2 separate regions of the Homo sapiens genome follow, and region 1 is linked to region 2. The links are contacts of gene promoters, found by promoter capture Hi-C in human tissues and cell types (Jung and others, 2019). All regions are on one chromosome and are shown on one strand. Each heading gives the region's core, a stretch centred on a gene start or on the middle of the fragment in contact. The rest is flanking DNA. Distances are from core to core; before and after follow the strand shown.

Region 1 (6,838 bases), core at 4,339-6,838, 280 kb after region 2:
TGGAGCTGGTTGCTATGGCAACTGCATCTGTTTACAGGACCCACAGATCTCAGAGTCCATTAACCCTTTGCCTTCCCAGCCCCCTCCCTGACCAAGCAGCAGTTGGCTCTCATCAGCCCCCAGAGACCTAGCCCCCACCACCGGCTCACCTTGGGTTTCCCTACCCCTCCTGTTGGGGGCTTCCCAGCCCCCCAGGTTTCCTCTCCATTTTCCAGCTTCCCTCCTCTTCCTGTCCCCCTTCCCCTTTGTCTCTCACATACCCCTTGGTCTGTCCCTCGCCCTGGCCTAGCCTCACACCTGGTTCTTCAAAATGTCCATTCCTCATCCTGCATCCGACCCATCGCTTCCCCCAGGCTCCCTCCTCCTCCCCTCCCGCTCCTCTCCTCCAGGGCCTCCTCTGCCTGGCTCCCGTCCCCTCACTACAGAACTATCAATCAGCCTCCAGCTGGTTGTTGGGGGCCCCTGGCCCCACTTTACTGCCCTCCGTCCCCACCCCCACCCAAACCCCGTGCCTGTTTCTGTAACAGCCTGCCCAGCTCGGCCCTGGCTGGCTCAGCTCAGCATCCTCTGCTCACACCTCCCGCGCACACCTCCCTGATTGTCATTCCCTTTCAGGGGTCCTCTTATCCCTCCCTCAATCCCATTTCCCATAGCCCTTCCCTCCTTCCTCCCGGTGCCTCACCTGCTTCTTTCCCGGGCTCTCCACTTCCTCTCTCCTTTCTCTTCCTGGGACCTGCCGCCTGCTCCATGGTTCCCCCTGCGCTCCCTTTGCCATCCCCTGCCACCTTGCTCTTTGACATCGGGAATCCATAGACTGAACCCCTACTGTGTGAAGAGTGAGCCCCCAAAGGCACCTCAGCACACACCCCAGCTCCAGCCCTGTCACTCCTTGGCCTGGCTCTGCTCTCTCTCTGGGTCTTGGTTGCTTTGTCTTTCCCCCTCTCCCCCGCACCCCGAGTTACTCTATTTTTCTTTCTGTGGGGTAGGGGCAGGAGGGCTAGGGTTCTAAGGACTGGAGGGAGCTGGGGGCCACAGGCTAGGGAATGCAGAGCTGACCAGCTCCTGGGAGAAGGGCTCCTGGAATTCAAGAAGCCTCTTTTTGGGGCCTTCCCCACCCAGGGCCTTCCCACAGCCCCTGTGGGGTCCCTGTCCTCAGGGGATCCTCAGCAGTTTATCCACCACGCCTGCATTGATGCTTCCCAAAGATCAGGCTCTGGGTGGCTTTGAGGGGGTCAAGGATGAATAAAACCCAGACTTTGCCCTTGTGGAGTGCCCAGGCTGGGAGGAAAGGCCCAAGCTTTGAAGAAATGTCTTTGTTCATTCAACAGATATTGATTGAGCACCTGTGTGAGGTACTCTGTCCACTCAGCCATTTAGCTGGACAATCTTAGCAAGTCATTTGTCCCAAGTCTGGTTCCTCGCCGGCAAAGTGGACCTGTGCACATCAGAGTGCCTAGTGCGGCCTGCTGGGTGGTAGGGGATAGGAGGCGTGGTCCTCAGTCCACAGCTGCTAAGAACTAGACTCTTAACAGGGCGGGACCCCAGATCCCACTCCAGACCCTCAGCCCAGGCCCCAGTGGTTCCTAGGCAACCCTGGCGGTGAGTGACGCGTGTCAGCTGTCACCATGGGGGATTGTTTGTTCCGGGGGGCTGAGTCAGCGCCAGGCAGCCTGGGGGGTGGGAGGGGTGACGCCCGCCGCCTGCTGGTGGTGCCAGCTCTGGGGTACAGACGGCACCCTTCTGCTCCCTGTGGACCCTGTTGCTGTGCGTGCCAAGTGGCGCTGCCCAGAGTCAATGGGGAGCTGGGCGGGGAGGGGGGATGATCCAGATGGCCTCAGCTCCCTCCAGGAAGCCCATGTTCTTTCTCTCTGAGCCGTCTGGGGCCTGGGATGCCTGGGGGTGGTGGGCCTGCTGCCTCATCCTAGGGCTGGAGCCGACAGGAGGGGACCCCAGCAGGCTCCTCTGCCAGCCCATTTCCCCCAAGTCACCTGTCAGCTCCTTCCCATCCCATCATCCCCTCAAACACTTGCTCCCCTGGAGAGTTTCCACCCGTGAGGACACTGCCGTCTGCCAGACACCCCAACACCTGAAGCCACCTTAGATTTCTGCCTTCACTTCTCAGCCATTTGAACCCTCTGGAGTCTGGCTCCTAAAGAGCTGTAGAATCCCATGCACGCCTTCCGTCTCCACTACAACTCTCCTCACTCAGACCACCATCAGCCCTGCCCCTAACCCTCCAAACCGTCCCCTTGCTGGTCTGGCCTGAGTATGACACAGTGGTTAGGAATTTTAACTCTGGAGTCACACTGGGTTAGAATCCACTAACCAGCCGTGTGGCCCTGGACAAGTCACTTAACCTGCCTCAGCTTCCTCATCTGCAAAACAGACATGAAAATAAAACTAGTACCTAAGTCATAAGGTTGTTAAGAATTAAATGAGTGAATCCACATACCGGCCAGGAGAAGCACCACTTAGATCTCAGCTGTGACTGTCAGTGAGCTCGGATTTCCTGCCCCACCAATCCTGAGACATGGACCAATCCTAAGACATGGACCTGACCACCCCACTCTGCTGCTGTGTACTCTTCAATGCCTCCCCCCAAAATTTTTGTGTTAAAGTAAGTCCAAACTCCTGCTCTGGCCTCACAGGGCGCCCATGTCTGGCTCTGCTGAATTCTCCAGCTCCTCTTCCACCACTCTCTCTTTTCTTCCTGCTCGCTGCGCTGTCACGCCAGCCCCATGAAACCCGCAGCCTCCTGAATGTCTCCTGACCTTTCACCCCTCTGCCATTGCACCTTCTACTGCTTGGACTGCATTTCCCCCATTTGCTCACCAACACCTACTCCGAGTCCAGCCTGAACTCCCTCACCCCCCACACAGGGTTAAGCGCCCACTCCAGGTCCTCCCTGTACCCCAAACCCTGATCACCTGGAAGGCAGAGTGATCATCCCTCTGGGCCTGGGTTCCTCCTGGGCAGGGGCTGCATCCCAGGCCTCTGGAGCCCCAGTGCTCAGCACAGGGCCTGAGACTTGGCAGGGCAGACACGAAGCCATGTCTTGGGATGTTTTGGAAGGGGGTGTAGTGGACATGGGCCTGAACTGGGCATCCAGACGCTAGGGTTCCCTTCTGGACTGTTGTAATGACCTTGGACCAGGCCCTGCTCCTCCCTGGACCTCGGTTTCTCCACCTTTGCAACAAGCTCCACCTGGCTGGTCCTCTTCAGTAAACTATCCCACAGAAGGACTTGGGGGAAGGCCATAAGCTGCTGCCCCAACCCTGACGGGCACACGCCCCTCCCCCAGATCATAGCCTTTGATGAGCTGCGGACCGACTTCAAGAACCCCATCGACCAGGGGAACCCTGCGCGGGCAGTAAGTGATACATGTGCTGTGCCGAGGTGTGTCCGTCCGTCTGTCTTTCCATCTGTCGTGGGCTGGGGGTGGGAGACGGGAAGACGGGGGTGGGGTGGGGGGCCTACGGCCATGCCCCCTTCCTCTCTGTCTCCGCCCCCAGCAAACACCTGGCGCGGGCTCAGGGCTGAGTTCCTCTTGGCGGGGCGGTGGTTGCCAGGCTCTGGGCCGTTGCCATGGAGACGCGGGTGAAGGCCCTTCCATGGTGACGGTCGCCATGGGGACGGCGCGGCTGCTTCCCGGCCGTGCCGACAGTGCCGCAGAGATCGCTCTGGCGCCCCCTGGCGGCCACATGTGGAGCGGTGGGAGCTGCTCCAGTACCTGCTTCTCCGCCACCCCATCGCGGCCTTTTCCTTCCCCCAACAGCGCGAGCGTTTAAAAAACATCGAACGCATCTGCTGCCTCCTGAGGAAGGTCAGTGTCAGGGCTGGGGGCAGGAGGCTCCTAGCCCAGCGCTGCCCCCACTGTCTGTGGCCCAGAACCAGGCCTTCCCCTGCTTTGGGCCTGTTTGATCCACTCTACTTGGGAGGGAGTGGGAAGCCAGAGGCCTTTTAATCCCCAGAGGTCACGGTGGGTGGGCACCTCCCAAACCCCAGCTCCTCTCTGTCCCCTTGAAGGCTGGTCTGTCATAGCACCAGGCCGCTGACCTCTCACCCTCACTCCCCCAGCTGGTGGTCCCAGAATACTCCATCCACGGCCTCTTCTGTCTGATGTTTCTGTGTGCAGCAGAGTGGGTGACCCTGGGCCTCAACATCCCCCTCCTCTTCTACCACCTCTGGAGGTGAGGGTAGCAGCTGCCTTGGGGAGGCTGAGATGGGGAACAGGGGCAGGATGGGGGTGGGAGTCCTGATGGCAGACACTCAGGCCCCTGTCTGCCCCAGGTACTTCCACCGTCCTGCAGATGGCTCTGAGGTCATGTATGATGCGGTCTCCATCATGAATGCTGACATTCTCAACTACTGCCAGAAGGAGTCCTGGTGCAAACTTGCCTTCTACCTGCTCTCCTTCTTCTATTACCTGTACAGGTGAGGCCTTGCCCACAGCAGTCAGAACTCAGGGAAGGGATGTCCCAGCATCACGCTTCCAATCCCAAGTTCCTGCCTTTTGCCCCTGAGGACTGAGGGCAGCCCAGGGTGTGACCAGGTGGGCATCTGGGTGGCTGTGTGTGTGCAGGGCTAGGCTCACTGGCTCATCTTCCTACAGTATGGTTTATACGTTGGTGAGTTTCTAAGGGGGAAGCCGGCCAGGGAGCGAGCCCAGAACGGACCGGACGCCTGTGCACCCCCAGCCCTGCCCCTTGGCCGCAGAGGCCTCAGCCCTGGGGAGGGAGGGGGCACTGGTGCCCCCAGCCTCTCCAACCCCCAAACTGCTGCTGCGGGGAACCCCCCCCACCCCGCCTTCAGAGCCCTCCCCCTTGGACTAGAGCGGCTGGGCAGAGCTCTAAACAGGGGCAGGGGCTCCTCTGCCAGCCTGTGGGCATGGCAGTCATTCCTGGAAGGGGCAGGACCTCCGGCCTTGTCCATTTCGGGGGAAACTTGGGCCCTGCCAAGGGGCAGAGCTTGACCCTGGAAATTCTGGGCCATCCCCCTCCACCCCCACCCTGAGGCTCCCCCTGCAGGTGGGGGGGTACCCGCACCGGGAATGAGCAGGCTCAGCAGGGGGGCAGCCCCACCCCTAGTCTGCCCTCCCCTCTCCCCCAGGCTCTTTCTCCAGCCCTGTCTCCATCTGCCCCAACCTCAGCCCACCTTGTCTCTTGGACCTATTTTCTATGTCGCCTGGAGGAGTCCGGCACCCCCTCCCCGGCCATTTGTGACAAAATATGAATAAACTACTGCAAATATGTGGGCCCCGGTTCTGCTCCTGGAAAGCTTGAAGAGGAGATGGGGGCCGATTACAGGGACTGTATAGGGGGCAGCCCTAAGCTGAATCCCCAGCCTGGCTTGTCTCACCCCACTAGCCCACAGACCCTGCTGGAGCCCCCCAGAGGGATCAGACGCCTTCCAGGTCCCCTCAGCAGCCTCCTTCCATCTTCTCTTTCCCAGCTGAGGCTGCTGAAACCCTTACAAGGCAGTATCAAGGTCACCAAAGTCATGAAGCCCTCCCTGGGTCCACCTTCTTCCTAGACGGCCCCAAGCCCGATCCCCTGGGCAATGCAGAGGCGCAGAGGTATCTGTAGCTCCCCATCAGGCCCCAGGAACAAGGGTCAGACAAAGTCAAGGAAATCAAATCTTCAATGAATGAAAAACTCAGTGCCATCTGGGGCCAGGGGGTCACCGGACCAGGTGGAAAGTCAGCCAGTATATGATGAGGGGCTGGAAGGCTGCAGCTCCCAGAGTCAGGTAGAGCTGGAGACGCTGCCGGGGGACGGGGCCCCCCATGCTGTCGGGGCCCAGGGCTGCTGTCCGCAAAGAGCGCACCTGGAAGAAAGGAGAACTGAAGCCTGGCCAGGAGGGGGAGGTTTGCCCTCAAGTGAAGGCAGGGGAATGGGGGGGTGCACCAGACTCACAATGAAGTACATGAGCGCCGATGAGGTCCAGGCCAGCGCCACGTAGTAGCCATCGCTGCCGAACAGCAGCCCCGTGAGCACACTGAGGATCATTCTGGGGGTGGGAGGAGGAAAGGGTTGGTGACCCCCAGGGGTCTAGGCCTGAGATTGGCCCTACCCCCAACGCCCAGAGCCCAGCTAGACCCCACCTCCCACAGCACCTTTTACTCTCAATCTGTCCCCACAGGGACCCAGACCCCAAAGGGATATGGAAGGCCCAGGACTCAGCCCCAGGACCTGGATCTGAGACCCCCTTCTCTCCCCAAGACTCGCAGAGTGACTCTCAACACCTCCCCAACCTCTGCATGGCACGCAGATCCTCAGGAGACTGCTGGAGACAGCTGCTCCCTCTTAACAGAGCAGTGCTAGAGGTCACTAGGGGCCGAGACATGTCCAGGGTCACAGTTCGAGGCTACAGCTATGCAGGCCCAGATCCAAGGCCACCTCCCCCTGGCCCACAAGTGCTCACCCCACGTATTTGTAGCCACTGTAGGCCAGCAGGTGAAAGGTGCTCAGGTCACTGCGCACGGTGGCCAGGTAGAGGCCCAGGAGCAGGGCCAGCACCTCCATCACCACCCACACCAGCGCTGTGCTTGCACACAGGCCCAGCACCTCCGGGGAGAACCTGCGCCAAAGCAGGGGTGGCTCAGAGCCAGGCATCCTGAGGCAGGGGTGAGGAAGAGAGACTGGGGCAACAGAGGGTGAGCTGGGGACCACCACATATGCCCTAGGGAGGTTGGGAGAAGAGCTCACAGGGAGGGGAGGGTAAGGGAGGGGCTTGGCACTGACCTTTTCTGAATGCCCAGTGCCATCCCAGCCAGGAGCACGTAAGTAATGAAGGCCATCGCTGCCAAGTGCCAGAGAGATGCCATCAGCTTGGCTTC
Region 2 (7,043 bases), core at 73-2,572:
TATTAACCCCTGACCAAAACTACTGGTGTTATCTGTAAATTCTAGACATTGTATGAGAAAGCACTGTAAAACTTTTTGTTCTGTTAGCTGATGTATGTAGCCCCCAGTCACGTTTCTCACGCTTACTTGATCTATTATGACTTTTTCACGTAGACCCCTTAGAGTTGTAAGCCCTTAAAAGGGCTAGGAATTTCTTTTTCGGGGAGCTCGGCTCTTAAGACACGAGTCTGCCGACGCTCCCGGCCGAATAAAAAAACCTCTTCCTTCTTTAATCTGGTGTCTGAGGAGTTCTGTCTGCGACTCGTCCTGCTACAACAGAATGGGACAATACAATGCATGTCATGTAAAAGTAACTCCGGCCGGGCGCGGTGGCTCACGCCTGTAATCCCAGCACTTTGGGAGGCCGAGGTGGGCGGATCACGATGTCAGGAGATCGAGACCATCCTGGCTAATACGGTGAAACCCTCTCTCTACAAAAATACAAAAAATTAGCCGGGCGTGATGACGAGCGCCTGTAGTCCCAGCTACCCGGGAGGCTGAGGCAGGAGAATGGCGTGAACCCGGGAGGCGGAGCTTGCAGTGAGCCGAGATCGCGCCACTGCACTCCAGCCTGGGCGACAGAGCAAGACTCCGTCTCAAAAAAAAAAAAAAAAAAAAAGTAACTCCTATAATCTTAAGTACTAGTGTAATATAAAACTATACGCATGCTCCAGAGAAGTCATCCTGGCAACCTCTCTGGAAGGAGTTTGAAATAAACCGTATCTTTCTCAACACGCTTGTACACCCCAAGTCTAGCATAGTCACACAACAGAGAAGTTCAGTCTGGCAACACACTACAGCCGGAGACAAACTAGGTGGCCACCGTGATGGTTCAAGCCAGGAACTAGTTAATTAAAGGTTGAGGTGAGCAGGCTTGTCTGCGACATTTGCATATTTCTGACTTGCGTACTTAGAAGACGAAGGCCAGTACCCTTAAGACTGATGGTTTCCGAAAGAAACACTGTCGTCTCTAGTTGCTGTCCTCCTTCCTCCTCCCTGTCTATCCCGGAGAAAAGACCCTCAGAGAAACACCCACACTTAGTCTCTGGCCCTCGGCTCCCAGGAACGCTGCCGGAGCAACACCGCCGTCTAGGCTGGACGCTGAGAGAGGATCGTCCACGACTCACTTCAAGGCTGAACCAAGAAAACACAGTAAAGGAACTTGCCGGCGGCCGCGACGGTAGCGTCAGTTAGAAATCAGGTCTCCAGTGTTCCCAGTTCCCACCAGTCCAACTGCGAGGAGTGCGACGTGAGTCTGAGTCTGATCCCTCCGAAAACCGTACTTCCGGCGCTGTCTCGGAGGCCTCCCGTCCCCTCCCTTGTCCGTCTTCTAACTCTTCCCCACGCCAGGTCCGTCAAGCCTAAGTCCTTGAGTTCCGGGTCCGGGCAGCAGAGAAAGGAAGTCCTCTCCCTGGAGGCCTATCTCCCTCAGAACTGCGCGAGAAGCGAGACCTTAGAAGGCAGGGCTTCCCGCGAAGGACCGGAAAGGAGCGCCTACTAAGGACGCCGTCGAGGTCCGGGGCGCCTCAACTCTATAGCTCTAACTGGCTAGAAGTGCCCAACGTGGAATGTTTCTTTTTTAAAGGCGGCTCTTGAAGCGACCCGGAAGCGGAAGTGGAAGAAAGTTCTAGTGGCTTGAGGTATCCGCAGGAGCGGCCGGGTGGCGGGAGGAACCGTTACGGGAACTGAAGTTGCGGGTGAGCGCCAGCCGCGGAGCAGGGCCCTGATTGGAGGCCAGAGGGGTTGCGGGGAGAAGGGGAGGAGAGGGGTCGCAGGCGCTGTGGCGGGCCCTGGGGGAGAGCTTGGCCGCGCTGCGGGGAGGGGGCGGGGTGCAGCGCGTGGGAGCCGGGCCGCGGGAAGGGGCGGGCCGCAGCGGCGCGCGGTGGGGGCGGAGCTGGGGCGCGGCGTGAACCCCGCGGGCGGGGAGCGGGTGTGCGCAGCGCTAGGTGTGCGCTTCGCCCTGTAGGTAGAGAGACCCTTTGGTTAGCTTTCCACGCCAAGTGGCCGTTCCAGGCAGGCAGTGTCGTCTTGGTTCAGCCAAGGTCACAGAGGGAGTGATAGCTTCCGCGCAGCCCTGGCTACGGACTCTGGGCATCTTTCCACTGCCCCGCTTGCGCCACCTGTTAGGCAGGATCGTTTTTCCTCTGGGGCAAGATCAAAATCCAGGTCCTGCAGGAAGAAACTCCTCTTAAAAATAGTAGGGAAGAGTCTCCCTGGAACTGTTTTCTCCTTTCAGGATGAGGGGGATCGAGCAAGCCACTGTAACCCCTGGCTTGGCTTCCTCTTACTATGAGATTGCTCGTGGGCCCTTAGAAGTTCCAGGTCTTCAGCCCTAATCTGCCTTTTTTTTGGGATTCCTAGATTAAGCCTGATCAAGATGACAACCTCCCAAAAGCACCGAGACTTCGTGGCAGAGCCCATGGGGGAGAAGCCAGTGGGGAGCCTGGCTGGGATTGGTGAAGTCCTGGGCAAGAAGCTGGAGGAAAGGGGTTTTGACAAGGTGTGGGGTGGCTGCGTGTACCTAGTGCAAGCGGGGGGTGGAAGGGAAGTGATTCCATCTGCTGGGGGATGGACAGTAAGGTATAATCTGAAGAGGCTGCCAGAGCCTGGGCACCTGGTGGAGAGGAGAGGGGGGCAAAACCCGCGCTGCTTCCTGGGCTTGTGTGCTCTGAATGGCACAGGAATGGCTGTCTTGCTCTTATCTCTCACTGAGCACTGAGCAGCACGCTCCTTCCTTTTCCCTGTTTTGCAGGCCTATGTTGTCCTTGGCCAGTTTCTGGTGCTAAAGAAAGATGAAGACCTCTTCCGGGAATGGCTGAAAGACACTTGTGGCGCCAACGCCAAGCAGTCCCGGGACTGCTTCGGATGCCTTCGAGAGTGGTGCGACGCCTTCTTGTGATGCTCTCTGGGAAGCTCTCAATCCCCAGCCCTCATCCAGAGTTTGCAGCCGAGTAGGGACTCCTCCCCTGTCCTCTACGAAGGAAAAGATTGCTATTGTCGTACTCACCTCCGACGTACTCCGGGGTCTTTTGGGAGTTTTCTCCCCTAACCATTTCAACTTTTTTTTGGATTCTCGCTCTTGCATGCCTCCCCCGTCCTTTTTCCCTTGCCAGTTCCCTGGTGACAGTTACCAGCTTTCCTGAATGGATTCCCGGCCCCATCCCTCACCCCCACCCTCACTTTCAATCCGTTTGATACCATTTGGCTCCTTTTTTGGCAGAACAGTCACTGTCCTTGTAAAGTTTTTTAGATCAATAAAGTCAGTGGCTTTCATGACTGGGCTTTGTGCACTGAAAAGCAAGTGGGCTGGGAGTTGCCTCTCCTTCAGGGACTGACCATGTTTCCCTCACTCCTTATCAGTAGAGACCGAAACTGGCAGCTTCCCTTCCACTCCCAGAGGGCAGCCACCCTAGCCATGTAGGCCTCAGGCAGGTGACTTTTGTCTCAATCCCCGAGTGATGTGGGAGAGGGTGTGGGTGGATCTTTTCCTGGGAGCCAGATGGACTGTGCTCCAGATGTCAGTTAAGTCAACAGCTGGGCTAGGCAGCACCTGGTGGAAAAGTCAGTGGGAGTCAGAGGTACCAGACAGGGTGGGCCGGATGTGGGTGAGAGTTCACCTGCCAGTCATCATCTGCTCTCCCGGCCTCTGTAAGGGTGGGCAGGGTGCTTGCCATCTTCCATGATCTCTTAGGGAGGAGAAGGAGCACAGGCATCACAGCTGGAAGGATGTGAGGGGAGTACACCTCAGTACATTTTAGTCCTGTTCTTTTTGTTTACTTTTTAACTTAATAGGGACAGGGCCCTGCTCTGTTGCCCATGCTGGCCTTAAGCGATCCTTAAGCCTCCCAAAGCGCTGTGACTATAGGTGTGAGCCACCATACCCGGCCAGCCCTATTATTTCTTGAACACTTAGTATGAACCAGGCTTGAAGCTAAAATCTTTGCAAACATTTTTTTCTTTCACAGTAATAAATATTTTCTCCTTTACAGGTGAGGAAATTTGAGGCTCAGAGAGGCTAATTTGCCCATGGACTTGCTCCTGGGAAGTAGCCAGACTGGAACTCAAACTAGCTTGGAAACCCAGGGACCCGGCCATGTGTTCCTTGGTCATGTGGCTTAGCCTCTCTGAGCCTCAGTTTCTCCACTTGGAAAATGAGGTGGTTGTAGGGAAAGGATATTTGCAGCAGTATAAACAACAAAGGACTATTTCCATAGCACATACAGAATTGCAATCAAGAAAAAAGCGGACTGGCTGGGCGCAATGGCTCACGTTTGTAATCCCAGCACTTTCAGAGGCCGAGGTGGGTGGATCACCTGAGGTCAGGAGTTCAAGACCAGCCTGGCCAACATGGTGAGACCCCATCTCTACCAAAAATACAAAAATTAGCCGGGTGTGGTGGTGCACGCCTATAATCCCAGCTACTCAGGAGACTAAGGCAGGAGAATCGAACTTGGGAGGCAGAGGTTGCAGTGAGCCGAGATCACGGCCATTGCACTCCAGCCAGGGTGACCAGAATGAAACTTTGTCTCAAAAAAAAAAAAAAACAACAGAAAAATGGGTAAAAGATCTAAGACGGCCACAGAAGAGGGTTCCCTCCCAGTAAATAAGCACAGGAAAGGTGCTCCATATTGCTAGTAATAAGACATCACATGCCATTAACACCCACCTGACTGGCAAACACTTTTAAGTTGGACAATACCAAGTATTGATGAGATAATGAAGCAACAGGAACTGATACCTAGCTGGTGGGAGTATAAATTGGTCTAAACAATTTGGGAAGACAGTTGGGTGTTATTTAGTAAAACTGACACGCCCTGTGACCAAGCAGTTCCACTCTCAGGACTGTGCCTTGAAGAAAGTCCCGAACACCTGCAGCAGGACCTAGATGAGTTTGCAGCTGCATTGTTGGGAGCAACGCTAGCGGCTGTCAATACTAGAGTAGATAAATAGGCACTCATGCCACCGGACACTGGACGGAGGTAAAAATGAACAAATGATAGTTGTGTACAACACGAATCTCAATAGCAAATGAAGACAAACAAATTCTTAGGAATTCCTACATAGATGGTAAAACTAGAAGGAAAACAAAGGAAATGATTATGGTAAATAGTAAAGGAAAAAGTCTACAGGGATTATCTTTGGGGGAGGGTGTGGAAGGGCTTAAGGGTAGGCTTGGCCTACCCTGACCTGTGTTTCTGACCTATGGGGTGGTGGTACAGGCATTGACCAAAAGTGTATGTTCTGCGCCCTTTTCAGTGTATTCGCTACATCTCAACAATAGAAAGATAACAGGAAAACCAAAAATAAAGACCTGAGGCTGGAACGATTGAGTGAAAGGTCAGAAACTAAATTGTTATTTGTAGGGATGAGAGTTCTGTGCAAGGCTGGGACTGGAAAGTGCGAGTGGCCCAGCTTGAAAGGGACACCAGGTGACTGCAGCAGGGCCCAGCTTGTGCTTCAAGCCGCTTCCTGGGAGGCTGCTGGTCTGAGTCCCGGCTGAGGTGGTCACGAGGGCTCTCTCTTGAGTTTCAGACTGTTTCTGATGTCTTCCCGGCTAAGTCCCCTCAGCCTTGACCCTCATGCTATGATGCTGTCGCAGGCCTTGTGTGCTTAGGTGGGGGCTTTGCAGGGCTCCGGCCTCACCACACCTCAGTCCTGATGCTGCCAGCTTGTTGCTGGTGCTCTGTGAGGTCATGGAGACTCCTCCTCCATGAAGCCCTTCCCTGGGCTCCTGCCCACGCTGGCCTCCTGGTTTGGCCTCGCCTGGTGGCACTGGGACCCTGCTGGAAGCCTGCGGCTCATGCTGTCTGCTTTATTTCCTTGTTGTCTGCCTTTCCCGGCTCACCCACAGGCTTTGCCATAGAAGGGACTGGAACCTGCCTTCTCACCTCTCCCTTGGGGCACAGGCAGTGCATATACCAGGTGGCAGGCCACAAACCCTTTATCAGGACTCCATATTGCATCCCACACAAGTTCTTGGCTCTGTCCTGGGACAGCAGTAGACAAAGGGCATCTAGAATGTACCTTGTGACAGTGTGGCCTCTCAGATCCAGCCCGACTCAGCCAGCAGGACAAAGGGACCACGGCTTGGAATGCTGGCGCAGAAAGCAGACCTGGCTGGTGAGGGGTATGAGTCAGGTTGTCTCAGTGTCAGCCCGTGGTGTCCAAGAGGACATGCCTGGCCACCCACTAGCCTGGGACATAGGTGGGCCCAGAAATCAGCAAATACTGACCCCATCCCCCCATCACACCCAGCCAGAGCTTGACCCCCTCAGCTGGTCTAGTCATGAGTGCTCAGAGCCAGCCTAGAACTTCGTGTGAACCCAGCCCATGCACTCTGGGGTGCTGAAGGGCTCCTGCTGCCCCCAGAAAGGAAGTAGGGGGAGGCTACCTGGACCACCACAAGCCCTGCCCCCGGCAGCCTGCTGAGCATGGAAGGCTCCCAGCAGGTGCTTGTGACTGTTGATCCCTTTCCAGGCTGGCCCCTCCCTGTGGGGACCAGGGCTCTTTCCTGTCACTCCCAACCTTGACTGGTGGCAGCCTTGAAGAGCCAGCCAGGCCCGATTCTGGGGCTTTGCTCCCCATGCGATCTGGAGCAAGTTGCTTCACTCCCCTGAGCTACAGCCTCCTCTGCCAGCTGATAACAGGGTTGTGAAGATTCAACCAGTGAATCAGCAGCGCTTAGGAGCGCTCCTCCCCAGAGGGGAGCTTTAATCCCTGTTGGATTACAGGTTTCCTTGCTGAAAGATCTCCTTTCCAGGATATGGGGCTACAGAGCCCTGGGGGGAGGGCAATATCCTCTGCCCAACTGAAGGTTCAAGGAAGAGGGTTCTGGGGGAAGCATCGAAGCCTTGGAGAGCCTGATCCCAGAGGGAAGGAGATGTCAAGAACCTGCCCTGGTCATCTCCACCCATCAGGCCAGGGGCAAGAGAGGGGTGCTGTGGACAACCTGGGGTGGGATGTCTGGGCCACTGCAAAACTGGAGGCTCTGCCCTGTGGCCAGT

What was found. The method cuts DNA at HindIII sites, captures the fragments that hold promoters and counts their contacts. A contact is called where the count stands out against the background at its distance.
Region 1: a contact is called between a fragment that was not itself captured here and the fragment with the promoter of EIF1AD in region 2, in 1 of the 25 tissues and cell types used here (lymphoblastoid cells).

The regions. Positions count from the first base shown.
Region 1 is chr11:66,278,958-66,285,795 of GRCh38, forward strand. CNIH2 (cornichon family AMPA receptor auxiliary protein 2) reads left to right here. Exons shown (of 6, transcript NM_182553.3): 2 at 3,302-3,370; 3 at 3,776-3,823; 4 at 4,078-4,190; 5 at 4,291-4,434; 6 at 4,613-5,249. The coding sequence ends at 4,640. It overlaps YIF1A (Yip1 interacting factor homolog A, membrane trafficking protein), which reads right to left. Exons shown (of 8, transcript NM_020470.3): 5 at 6,744-6,801; 6 at 6,424-6,579; 7 at 5,916-6,009; 8 at 5,623-5,826. The coding sequence ends at 5,680. Among named protein-coding and RNA genes, the nearest start is that of CNIH2, 4.2 kb to the left of the region's middle. RefSeq lists an enhancer at 3,489-3,992. The HindIII fragment of the contact is 4,602 bases long and covers 3,288-6,838 here.
Region 2 is chr11:66,000,835-66,007,877 of GRCh38, forward strand. It overlaps EIF1AD (eukaryotic translation initiation factor 1A domain containing), which reads right to left and starts at 1,323. Exons shown (of 6, transcript NM_001242481.2): 1 at 1,076-1,323. It overlaps BANF1 (barrier to autointegration nuclear assembly factor 1), which reads left to right and starts at 1,669. Exons shown (of 3, transcript NM_003860.4): 1 at 1,669-1,736; 2 at 2,401-2,539; 3 at 2,792-3,315. The coding sequence starts at 2,417. The coding sequence ends at 2,938. RefSeq lists enhancers at 1,021-1,390, 2,398-3,204 and silencers at 1,691-2,030, 6,524-6,818. The HindIII fragment of the contact is 11,764 bases long and covers 1-4,133 here.